Regions from separate parts of the Homo sapiens genome. Here all the other regions are linked to region 2. Evidence: promoter capture Hi-C in human tissues and cell types (Jung and others, 2019). All regions are on one chromosome and are shown on one strand. The core of a region is centred on a gene start or on the middle of the fragment in contact, and the rest is flanking DNA. Distances in the headings are between cores, read along the strand shown.

Region 1 (2,798 bases), core at 294-2,793, 540 kb before region 2:
AATGATAGCCTGTATAAAGAAAATGTGGTACACATACACCATGGAGCCATAAAAAAGAATGAGATCCTGTTCTTTGCAAGTACATGGATGAAGCTGCTGGCCATTATTCTTAACAAACTAACTCAGGAACAGAAAACCAAATACTGCATGTTCTCATTTATAAGAGAACTAAATGATGAAAACACAAGGACACAAAAAGACATCAACAGACAGTGGGGTCTAACTCAGAATGGAGGGTGTGAGGAGGAAGAGGATCAGAAAAAATAACGAATGGGTACTAGGCTTAACGTCTGAGTGATGAAATCATCTGTGCAACAAACTCCCGTGACATGAATTTACCCATAAAACACATGCACATGTACCCCTGAACTTAAAAGAAAAAAAATGCATTTCCAATAAAAATTTAATTTTATTAAAATTATTTATCAAATCTGAAAAATATTGATATTTTGACTTCTTAATTTTGGAGTGATCAGGGTCCTTGGTTATTTGATTATTTTTCTCTATCTAAATTCAGTTCTTTAAATTTCAAACAGTCTTGGGGATTTAAATTCCATTAGTATGCTACTAACTCCTAAATTTATATCTCTAAGCTTCCTCTAAACTCCAGAATTATGAAGCCAATTGCTTCCTCAACATCTCCTCTTCTTTTTCAAAAAATTTCAAATTTTTATTTTTTGTGAGTACAAAGTAGATACACACACACACACACACACACATATGTACCATATATATGAGTTACATGAGATATTTTGATGCAGGTATGCAATGAGTAATAATCACATCAGGGTACATAGGGTATCCATCACCTTAAGCATTTATCCTTTTGGTTTACAACAATCCAATTATACTCTTTTAGTTATTTTTAATTGAACAATTAAATTAATTTTTAATATAGTCACCCTGTTATGCTAGCAAATACTCAGCCTTATTTATTCTTTCTGGCTATTTTTTGCACCCATTAACCATCGCCTCTTCCCCAGCAACCTTCCACCCCAACTCTGTCTACCCTTCCCAGCCTCTGGTAACCATCCTTCTCCTCTCTATCTCTGTGAGTTCAATTATTTTAATTCTTAGCTCCCACAGATAAGTGAGAATATGTGATATTTGTCTTTCTGTACCTGGCTTATTTCACTTAACATCTCCATTTGTATGTCTGACATCTTAAACTCCTGAGGTTTCCTCAAAACCTGCTCTACCAACAGCTTTTTATGTTAGTTGAGGGAAATTCAGCTTTCCCAGTGGTTTGGTCCCTGAGCCTTGACACTGTTCTTGATTATTTTCTTTTCTTTCTTCTTCTTTTTTTTTAATATCCCACATTCACACTGTTAAGAAATCCCACGAGTTTTACCTTCAAACTATATCTGGAATCTAATGAACTCTCACTACCCCACTGCTAAAAATGCTAAAAATGGTTCAAGCCTCCATTCTCTTTTATATGAATTAATGCAGTAGTCTCTTCTCTGGTGTCCCTGAGTCTACAATTCTCACCATATAGTCTATTTTCAATCAATAACCAGAATCATCTTGATAAAATACATTATATAATGTCACTCTTTCATAATCCTGCACAGTTAACTGTGATGCTTAATTTTATGTGTCAATTTGGCTGCGCCATGGTGCCCAGATAGATGGTCCAACATTATTCTGGAGGTTTCTGTCAGAGTGTTTTTCGATGAGATTAACATTTAAATTGGTGGACTTGAGTAAAGCAGATTATCTCTGTAATGTGAGTGAGCCTTGTCCAAACAGTGAAAGGCCTGAATAGAATGAAAGACCAACCTGACCAAGAGGGAGTTCTGCCGACAGCCTTCAGAACTGAACTGTAGCACTGGCTCTTCGTTGGGTCTCCAGCCTGCTGGCCTGCCTTCCAGATTTTGGACTTGCCAGTCTCCATAATCATGTGAGTCAATTCATTAAAATCACCTCTTTTTACTTACACACACACACAAACACACACACACACACACACACATCTATTCATTCTGTTTTTCTGGAGAATCCCAACAGCACCACTTAAAAAGCTTTCCCTTTTAAAATACCAGGATATCTCTTATCAAAACATCTGTTCATTTATCCGGTAAGACAAGAAAAAAGATCAGTTAAAATGAATATTTAGGTTTTCTGTTTTTTCTTTATTTTTTGTGTTTATTTTTCTAATATGTCCCTTTGTCTAAGTTTTCAAAATTATTGACACAAAATATAAATTTTAGATTCTCTATTGCCTCTGTGGTCTTGCCCCATTTTTTATTCTTGATATACTATTTGCAACTTCTGTTTTTTCTTTATCAGTATTTCCAGAAATTTGACAGTTTTATTAATCTTTTAAAAGTATCAGTTGTTAATTTTTAGGTTCTTTCTATTGTTTCTTTGTTTTTTATTATATTAATTTCTGTTTTTATCTTTATATTTTCCGCTGTTATATGTAGAATGTTTAGTTCATTATTTTTCAACCATTTTTAGCAACGTATTTAATTAAGATTATTCATTACATGGATCACAATCCATCATCCAAAACCCTTGGTGTCAAATGTGTTTCAGAATTCACTGATTTTAGATTTTAGAGTGGCAATATGGTTTATAAACTCTATATTATAAAAATCTCCCATGGTATCTGTGCCAATACTCTGGTCATATCTTGGGTTGGTGCAAAAGTTATTGCGGTTTTTGCCATTACAAAGTAATTACAAAGTAACGGCAAAAACGCAATAACTTTTGCACCAATCCGTACATTAAGCTAATAAAGACTATAGTTTGTCTCATATCAGATTGAGTCAGGGTTTCATGTCAAATTTTCT
Region 2 (2,741 bases), core at 98-2,597:
TTGATTGTGATGGTGGTGGATTTTTTCCAAATTTCCCCACAGCTGTTATCAAAACATGCAAATGAGATTTTCCAACAGGATCTTAAACAAATCTGGAGGAGTTAATGCCGAAGCAAAATAATCAGCACGTTTGAAGTGACTGTGAGTTTCAGTTTGTCTTTTCTCCCCGTGATATTATTGCAGGGGAATGATAATTAGACCTTTAGAAATCCAAAGGGGCTCTCTTGCTCTCTTCCCTCTCTCATTTCTCTTCTCTCTTTCTCTCTCTCTCTCTCTCCCTTCCTCCCTCCCTCCCTCCCTCTCTCCCTCCCTCTCTCTTGTTCCCTCCCTCTCCCTTTCTCTCTAACTCTGATGTTGGCAAAGGGGGTTTTCTTAATCAGACTGTTTTTTGGTCCCAGGGAAAGGAGGAAGAAGGAGATTGTGATGGAGAAAGGGGGTCTGTGAAACGTCAGGCACAGCACAAAGGCTTTGCCACGTAATTACAGGCTCCTATTAAGTCGAGATCTGCCCTCCCAGGGGTCTCCAATTTTCTTGTATTCCCTACAAAGCCTCCTCTGCATGCCAGTTTGTGCCTTTTGAAGTGCCAGAGAGCTTCTTGATCCAACTGAGAAGGAAAAAGGAGCCCAGCAAGAAGAGGGGGAGAGAGAGAAGGGGAAAGGGGGGAACCCACCAGCACCCTCCGTCGGACTCTTGAAGCCTTTTTTTTTTAATTCTTAATTTTTTTTTTTACTCTTTACAAAAAGTAAAGTGAGAATCCTGCTCTCTAATACATCTGCAAGACATCACCCTCTCCTCCTGAAACTTTAGTCACTCCTGAGAATCCACAGGAGTGCAGAGAGGGGGGAACACGTTTTCTTGAAGATGTTTTAAAGCTGGAACAAGCCTTCTTCTGTTGGTGCTTGAACTCTTGCCTGGGAATAACTTTTTTAACCTTTAAAAAAACCATTCACTTTGATTCTTCTCTCCCACCCCTTCTTCTCTCTTCTTCTGTTTGCCTAACTCCCCCGCCCTGCTGGCCTCCGCTTTCCTCTCTCCCCCTTGTTATTATTTTTAGTCTGTGCGTGTGGACACTTTTGGAGAGTTGGAAGGGATTTTTTTCTCCTGACTTGAACATAGGGTGACTTTTTAATATTGTATTTTACTGTGGATTATCTCTTTGGACCGCGCCGGACTTGGCCTCAGGAAATCAACCAATGCTGCGGAAGGCGGCTGGTGCACAACGCTCTGCTCTACAGAAGGGGGTCCCCCACCCTCTTTTCCAATTTTTTTTTTTTGGCCTTCCTCTCCTTCCCTCCCTCTTCCTCCCTCTCTCTCTCTCTCTCTCCACTACCCCCCTCTTTCTTCCCCACTCGGCTCCTCTCCCCCCTCGCGCCCACAGCGTTTGGTGTTGATTCGAGCGGGAAGAGGGGGGTGGGTGGGATCGGTGGGGGAGACCATGACCTCCAGCTACGGGCACGTTCTGGAGCGGCAACCGGCGCTGGGCGGCCGCTTGGACAGCCCGGGCAACCTCGACACCCTGCAGGCGAAAAAGAACTTCTCCGTCAGTCACCTGCTAGACCTGGAGGAAGCCGGGGACATGGTGGCGGCACAGGCGGATGAGAACGTGGGCGAGGCTGGCCGGAGCCTGCTGGAGTCGCCGGGACTCACCAGCGGCAGCGACACCCCGCAGCAGGACAGTGAGTGAGGGGCGCATGCCCACGGGGGTGTGTGCCCGGGACAGAGGGCGGGGACCCGTGTAGGGCAGCTAGAGCCCGTCCGCGGCCAGAAAGACAAGGTCCTGGGACCAGGAGAGGTGATGGCAGACTTCAAAGGAAGGGCCAGTCACAGGGGAAACCAGATGAGAAAAGCGGGTCTCGGCCGAGGGCATAGCCAAGGAGGACGCTGGAGAGAGGCTCCAAGGTCCGGGGACACTCCGAGGCCCTGCGGTCTCAGGCAGGGACTCTGTCCGCGGCGGACTCTCTTTACTTCGGCTAGGCACCGGCTCGGTTCATCCCGCACGCGGGGCGGCGGGGCTGGGCTGGGAAAAGGTCTTAGCGGGGTGCAAACTCAGAGAGCCAGCGCTGTTTGGGAAAGCAGCAGGTTAAAGATGCTGAGTCGGGTTGGAAGGGCTTCTCTCGGGCAGCGTATGACGGCTTGAGGGAGGGCACCAGGCACAGGGAGCAGGACTTGGCGCTGCTCAGGCTGCACTCTCCACGCGGGCACCGTAAGGCCGGGCGCGACCGGGAGGCCCCGAGAGAACGCCCGGCCCCAGACGCTGGAGCTGCTCTCTGCCCCCTGCTGTTGCCTCTACCGCAAATGGGTTTGAGACTGGCAGAGTCAAAAGCCCGGCTGGCTTGGGAAAACTCGGGCCAAGCAAAGGGAATGTCCTTTAAGGGTGAAACCTGAAATCCAGCCCCGCATGATCCCGCACAGGCGAGCTGCATCCGGGAGGCGCGAGCTTCAGTGCGGAGGCCAGTGTCACCTTAGAGGAGCTCTCCCTATTGGCTCTTAAACGCCCAGAAAAGTCCAGTTTCCCTTCCCCATCCTCACCGACCAACCTCGCGACCCATGAAAATCTCGCTTCGCTAGTGCCTTAAAAAGAGACTGCAATTGTATCCCCATGCCCCCAAGTCTGTAACAGACCGGTCACCCTGTTCATCCCAGGTGACATGTGGCCAGATATGTACAGATACTCCCTCTTCTCCTCGAGGTTGCAAGAGTCTGAACTTAGCTGTAAGTTCTCAAATGAGGCTGGTTGCTTT
Region 3 (2,836 bases), core at 62-2,561, 610 kb before region 2:
AAAGGAGATCTCTGGCTGGCATCAGGCCAGTGCTCCCTCTGGGACGAAGCTTCCAGGGGAAGGAGCAGGCAGTAATCTTTGCTGTTCAGCAGCTTCCACTGGTAATACCCAGGAGGACGGGGTCTGGAGTGGAATTGCAGCACACTGCAGCAGACCTGCAGAAGAGGTGCCTGGCTGTTGATACAAAAACTAACACACAGAGAGCAACAACAACAACATCAACAAAAAACACCACCCCCCCCCAAAAAAAACCCATACAAGGGTCATCAGCCTCAAAGATCAAAGGATAAATCCATGAAAATGAGAAAAAAACCAGCGCAAAAATGCTGAAAATCCCAAAACCCAGAATACCTCTTCTCCTCCAAATGATCGCAAGTCCTCTCCAGCAAGGGCACAAAACTGGATGGAGAATGAGATTGACGAAATGCCAGAAGTAGGCATCAGAAGGTGGGTAATAACAAACTCCTCTGAGTTAAAGGAGCATGTTCTAACCCAATGCAAGGAAGCTAAGAACCTTGATAAAAGGTTACAGGAACTGATAACTAGAATAACCAGTTTAGAGAGAAACATAAATGACTTGATGGAGCTGAAAAACACAGCATGAAAACTTCGTGAAGCACATACACAAGTATCAATAGCCAAATCGATCAAGCAGAATAAAGATTAGAGATTGAAGATCACCTTGCTGAAATAAGGCGTGAAGACAAGATTAGAGAAAAAAGAATGAAAAGGAACAAACAAAGCCTCCAAGAAATATGGGACTATGTGAAAAGATCAAACCTATGATTGACTGGTGTACCTGAAAGTGACAGGGAGAATGGAACCAAGTTGGAAAACACACTTCAGGATATTATCCAGGAGAGCCTCCCCAGCCTAGCAAGACAGGCCAACATTCAAATTCAGGAAATACAGAGAACACCACTAAGATACTCCTCGAGAAGATAAATCCCAAGACACATAATCATCAGATTCTCCAAGGTTGAAACAAAGGAAAAAATGTTAAGAGCAGCCAGAGAGAAAGGTCAGGTCAACTACAAAGGGAAGCCCGTCAGACTAACAGCGGATCTCTCTGCAGAAATTCTACAAGCCAGAAGAGAGTGGGGACCAATATTCAACAATTTTAAGGAAAATAATTTTCAACACAGAATTTAATATCCAGCCAAACTAAGCTTCATAAGCAAAGGAGAGATAAAAACCTTTCCAGACAAGCAAATGCTGAGGGATTCTGTCACAACCAAGCCTGCCTTAAAAGAGCTCCTGAAGGAAGCATTAAATATGGAAAGGAAAACCCAGTACCAGCCACTGCAAAAACACACCAAAATATAACGACCAATGACACTGAAGAAACTACATCAACTAATGTGCAAAATAACCAGCTACCAGCATGATGACAGGATCAAATTCACATATAACAATATTAACCTTAAATGTGAATGGGCTAAATGCCTCAATTGAAAGACACAGACTGGCAAATTGGATAAAGAGTCAAGACCCATTGGTGTGCTGTATTCAGGAGACCTATCTCACATGCAAAGACACAGGCTCAAAATAAAGGAATGGAGGAATATTTACCAAGCAAATGGAAAAAAAAAAAAAAGCAGGGATTGCAATTCTAGTCTCTGATAAAACAGACTTTAAACCAACAAAGATCAAAAAAGACAAAGAAGGGCATTACATAATGGTAAAGGGTTCAATGCAACAAAAAGACCTAACTCTCCTAAATATATATGCACCCAATACAGGACCACCCAGATTCACAAAACAAGTTCTTAGAGACCTACACTACAAAGAGACTTAGATTCCCACACAATAATAGTGGGAGACTTTAATACCCCACTGTCAATATTAGGCAGATCAATGAGACAGAAAATTAACAAGGATATTCAGGACTTGAACTCAGCTCTGGATCAAGTGTACCTAATAGACATCCACAGAACTCTCTACTCCAAATAAACAGAATATACATTTTTCTAAGTGCCACATGGCACTTATTCTAAAATCGACCACATAATTGGGAGTAAAACAATCCTCAGCAAATGCAGAAGAATGGAAATCATAACAAACAGTCTCTCAGACCACAGTGCAATCAAATTAGAACTCAGGACTAAGAAACTCACTCAAAACCACATAACTACATGGAAACTGAACAACCTGGTCCTGAATGACTGCTGGGTAAATAAAAAAATTAAGGCAGAAGTAAAGAAGTTCTTTGAAACCAATGAGAACAAAGAGACAACATACCAGAATCTCTGGGACACAGCTTAAGCAGTGTGTAGAGGGAAATTTATAGCACTAAATGCCCACATCAGAAAGGTGGAAAGATCTGAAACTGACACCCTAACATCAAAATTAAAAGAACTAGAGAAGCAAGAGCAAACAAAGTCAAGAGCCAGCAGAAGACAAGAAATAACTAAGATCAGAGCAGAAATGAAGGAGATAAAGACACAAAAAACTCTTCCAAAAATCAATGAATCTAGGAGCTGTTTTTTCAAAAAAATTAACAAAATAGACTGCTAGCTAGATTAATAAAGAAGACAGAAAAATCAAATTGACACAATAAAATATAATAAAGGGGATACCACCACTGATCCCACAGAAATACAAACTACCATCAGAGAATACTACAAACACCTCGAAGCAAATAAACCAGAAAATCTATAAGAAATGAATAAATTCCAGGACACATACACCCTCCCAAGACTAAACCAGGAAGAAGTAAAATGGCTGAATAGACCAATAACAAGTTCTGAAATTTAGGCAGTAATTAATAGCTTACCAACCAAAAAAAGAAAAAGGCCAGGAACAGATGGATTCACTGCAGAATTCTACCAGAGGT
Region 4 (2,746 bases), core at 212-2,711, 710 kb before region 2:
GCTATCAAAACATCATATATGAATAAAATTTTTATAAAAAACATTTTTAATAAGGAAGAGGAAAATTAAAAGTTCACTGTGGTAAATCATTTAAAAAGTGAAGAAGTTTATGAAAGGTGGATATTCATTAGTAAATGTATCTATTTTGACTTATTTTAACATTCACATATAAAGTTTACTTAGAGAACCAGTGTAATATAATCTAGTATGTAGACAAAAATCTCATGGCACAAAAATAACGTTGTAAAAATGTTTATTCCACTACCCTCAATGTATCAATTTTCTTTGACACATAATAACTTATTTATCAGTCTTTATGTTTATCTCTGATTATTTCATATGGACAAATTCTTAGAAATAAAGTTATAGAGTAAAAGGAAGTAAACAATCTAAGGCTCTTGTTCTTTATTACCAAATGCCTTTCATAAAGGTTTTATTAAATTCTACAACAGGTGTTTAGGAGTGCTGTTTTGCTTTGATGTGTGGGTATTAGCACTAGAAATTATTTGGCAATTGATAGGTGAAAATGTTATGTCTGCTTTATTTTGTAAACACCATGTCTAGAAAAATGGCTAAGTCAGTTTTTTTGAAAGGCTTCATGAAGCATGTTTTCTGCTGAGAAAAAGTAATATGAAATTCATAAATAATAGAAAAACTATGATCATCTTTGGTAAAAAAAAGTAATAACACACTAAATGAAGCAGTATTTTAGTCAATGATTATTTTAAAAAGATTTTATAGGTTTTTAGCAATTAGGTTAGTTCTTACAATGCTGAACAAATGGTTGGTGTCAATGTCTATCAAAGAAAATGCTTCTGAGAGGTTCTTTTCACTTTTTTGATCCTTCCATCTAATTGCTATGCTATGGCCACAGTAATGAAGATCATTGAACTTAAATTATTAGAACAAATGAGTTTGGGTTATTAATTAAAAATTGATAAAGGACTTATCAAAGAAGGAATTTTGCAGGCATATTTACTTTCCTCTCAATATAAAAGAATTTTTTGCTTGGCCAAATTAAGGGCTGTAAAATAGACAACTTAGTTTCTCTTCTGAATAACTGCTTTGAAACAAACTCATAATATACAGTTCTAGTAATATGTAGTTCTGTAAACACTGCACAATGCCTTTTAGACAGAGAATATGTAATTTTGAGGTTGCTTTCTCAAGGGAAAAAAACAGTAAACTAAATAGCTGAGTATAATTAAGGCAGCCTTACAGCTAAACAAATAAGTCTAATTTTTTTATATGTAGAATTCTAGAATTAAAAAATCATACATTTAAAAATTTGGGTAAAAGATTATTTCTTATATTTTAAAGAAATAATTTTTTAGTTCTCCTCAGTATGATTTTTAAAAGTACAACTAATATCCAACTGTGATTTAATATTTGAAAAAAAAGAGACCAAAATAGAAGGCATATGTATATGTAATATATAATACATATAATGCATAAAAAAGTTAATATTAAAGTACTCTAAGAAAAGAAAAAGAGGCAGGCTATAACACACACATAGAAAATGAAAGTTTAAGAGTCAGATGGCTCAGATAATGCATACATCTAGTTTGTCTTTGACCCCACTGAAATGGTCAGTAAATGACATCACTGTGCCAACCACAAAGAAGAACTCCAGGCTCTCTGAAAAATATTTTTCAAAGCCCCAAGGAAACCTAAGCAGTCTCTGCAATTTTTTTTCCAGTTTATGAAAATTGGATTCCTATAAAAGAAAAATGGACCATTTTTACTGCAACAAAAACTGATTTGTAAAAGCTGGAAGCAGTTTAAAAATACCCTTAACATGCGGTTCTTGTTAGTCTTGAAAAGTAAAAGTTATAATAAAAAAATGGTCCAAAAATATGGTGCAGATACATGGTATACATAACTGGAAAAAAGCTAGTCTTGCTCCTATTATTTTTAATTAGCTTCAAAAGCAAGTTCCACTTTACTTTCTAACACCAGTTCAGATTTTGGGAGGGGAAGATTTACATTTGACGCTCTGGGATTGGCAACTCCATAGCTATTGCCTTAGAGCCCTAATGCATTTTGCATTAGCTCTAAATGTTGGGAAATCCTGGCGCCAAGAGGTTCAAACTGATAGTGACACATGTCTAAAACCCAGGATTCACTGTCCAACTGCCAATATCTATTTTATCAAACATCCAGTCTTCTTATAGAATGGGATAGATGAGTTTAACAGTTTTCACTGTTTCCAATTAAACTGCATTGCTATCTTACAAAAATGAAGGTATTCAGATTAAGAAGGACCCCCTGACTTGGATTTTAAGAAAAATACCAATTTCAACTATTTAAATTCTTCTCTAAATCTGGCTTAGTTTCTCAGATTTTAATACATTCATCCTATTACTGAACCTTGTCATTTTATGAAGAAATAAATAATTTTTCTTTAAACAATTAAAAAAACCCTTGTGTCATACAAATTAGCAATTTGTTATTTATTACATGAATCCACTCAAACTGAAACATTAAGAAAACAGAGAATGAAAAGCCATGAGAACTGGCTGAAGAGTATGCCACTTGGCACTGTCATATTGTTTCGTGTTTTATCCCACATATTGTTATACTTAAATCATTGAAAACAATGGTAATGATAAAAGTTCACCTTTTATACATTAATCAAGTATTACTCTTTCTCCAGATAACTTGACAGTGTTTATTTATCAAAGACATATGAAGAAGAAGCAGGGAAAGAATTTATAAATCATCTGGACCATTTCCCTGATTTAAA

Evidence for each region. Contacts are between HindIII fragments. The study calls those that stand out against the background at their distance.
Region 1: a fragment that was not itself captured here is called in contact with the fragment with the promoter of PRRX1 in region 2 in 3 of the 25 tissues and cell types used here (bladder, heart right ventricle and liver).
Region 3: a contact is called between a fragment that was not itself captured here and the fragment with the promoter of PRRX1 in region 2, in 2 of the 25 tissues and cell types used here (aorta and mesenchymal stem cells).
Region 4: a contact is called between a fragment that was not itself captured here and the fragment with the promoter of PRRX1 in region 2, in 2 of the 25 tissues and cell types used here (IMR-90 fibroblasts and mesendoderm cells).

Annotation. Positions count from the first base shown.
Region 1 is chr1:170,119,881-170,122,678 of GRCh38, forward strand. No RefSeq gene overlaps it. Among named protein-coding and RNA genes, the nearest start is that of NTMT2, 25 kb to the right of the region's middle. The HindIII fragment of the contact is 6,375 bases long and covers 1-2,798 here.
Region 2 is chr1:170,662,784-170,665,524 of GRCh38, forward strand. It overlaps PRRX1 (paired related homeobox 1), which reads left to right and starts at 1,348. Exons shown (of 4, transcript NM_022716.4): 1 at 1,348-1,676. The coding sequence starts at 1,436. RefSeq lists enhancers at 253-780, 1,981-2,741. The HindIII fragment of the contact is 17,405 bases long and covers 1-2,741 here.
Region 3 is chr1:170,049,577-170,052,412 of GRCh38, forward strand. All of the region lies in intron 2 of KIFAP3 (kinesin associated protein 3), which reads right to left. Among named protein-coding and RNA genes, the nearest start is that of KIFAP3, 24 kb to the right of the region's middle. The HindIII fragment of the contact is 4,078 bases long and covers 1-2,836 here.
Region 4 is chr1:169,947,755-169,950,500 of GRCh38, forward strand. The region is part of intron 19 of KIFAP3 (kinesin associated protein 3); the gene reads right to left. Among named protein-coding and RNA genes, the nearest start is that of SCYL3, 55 kb to the left of the region's middle. The HindIII fragment of the contact is 6,764 bases long and covers 1-2,746 here.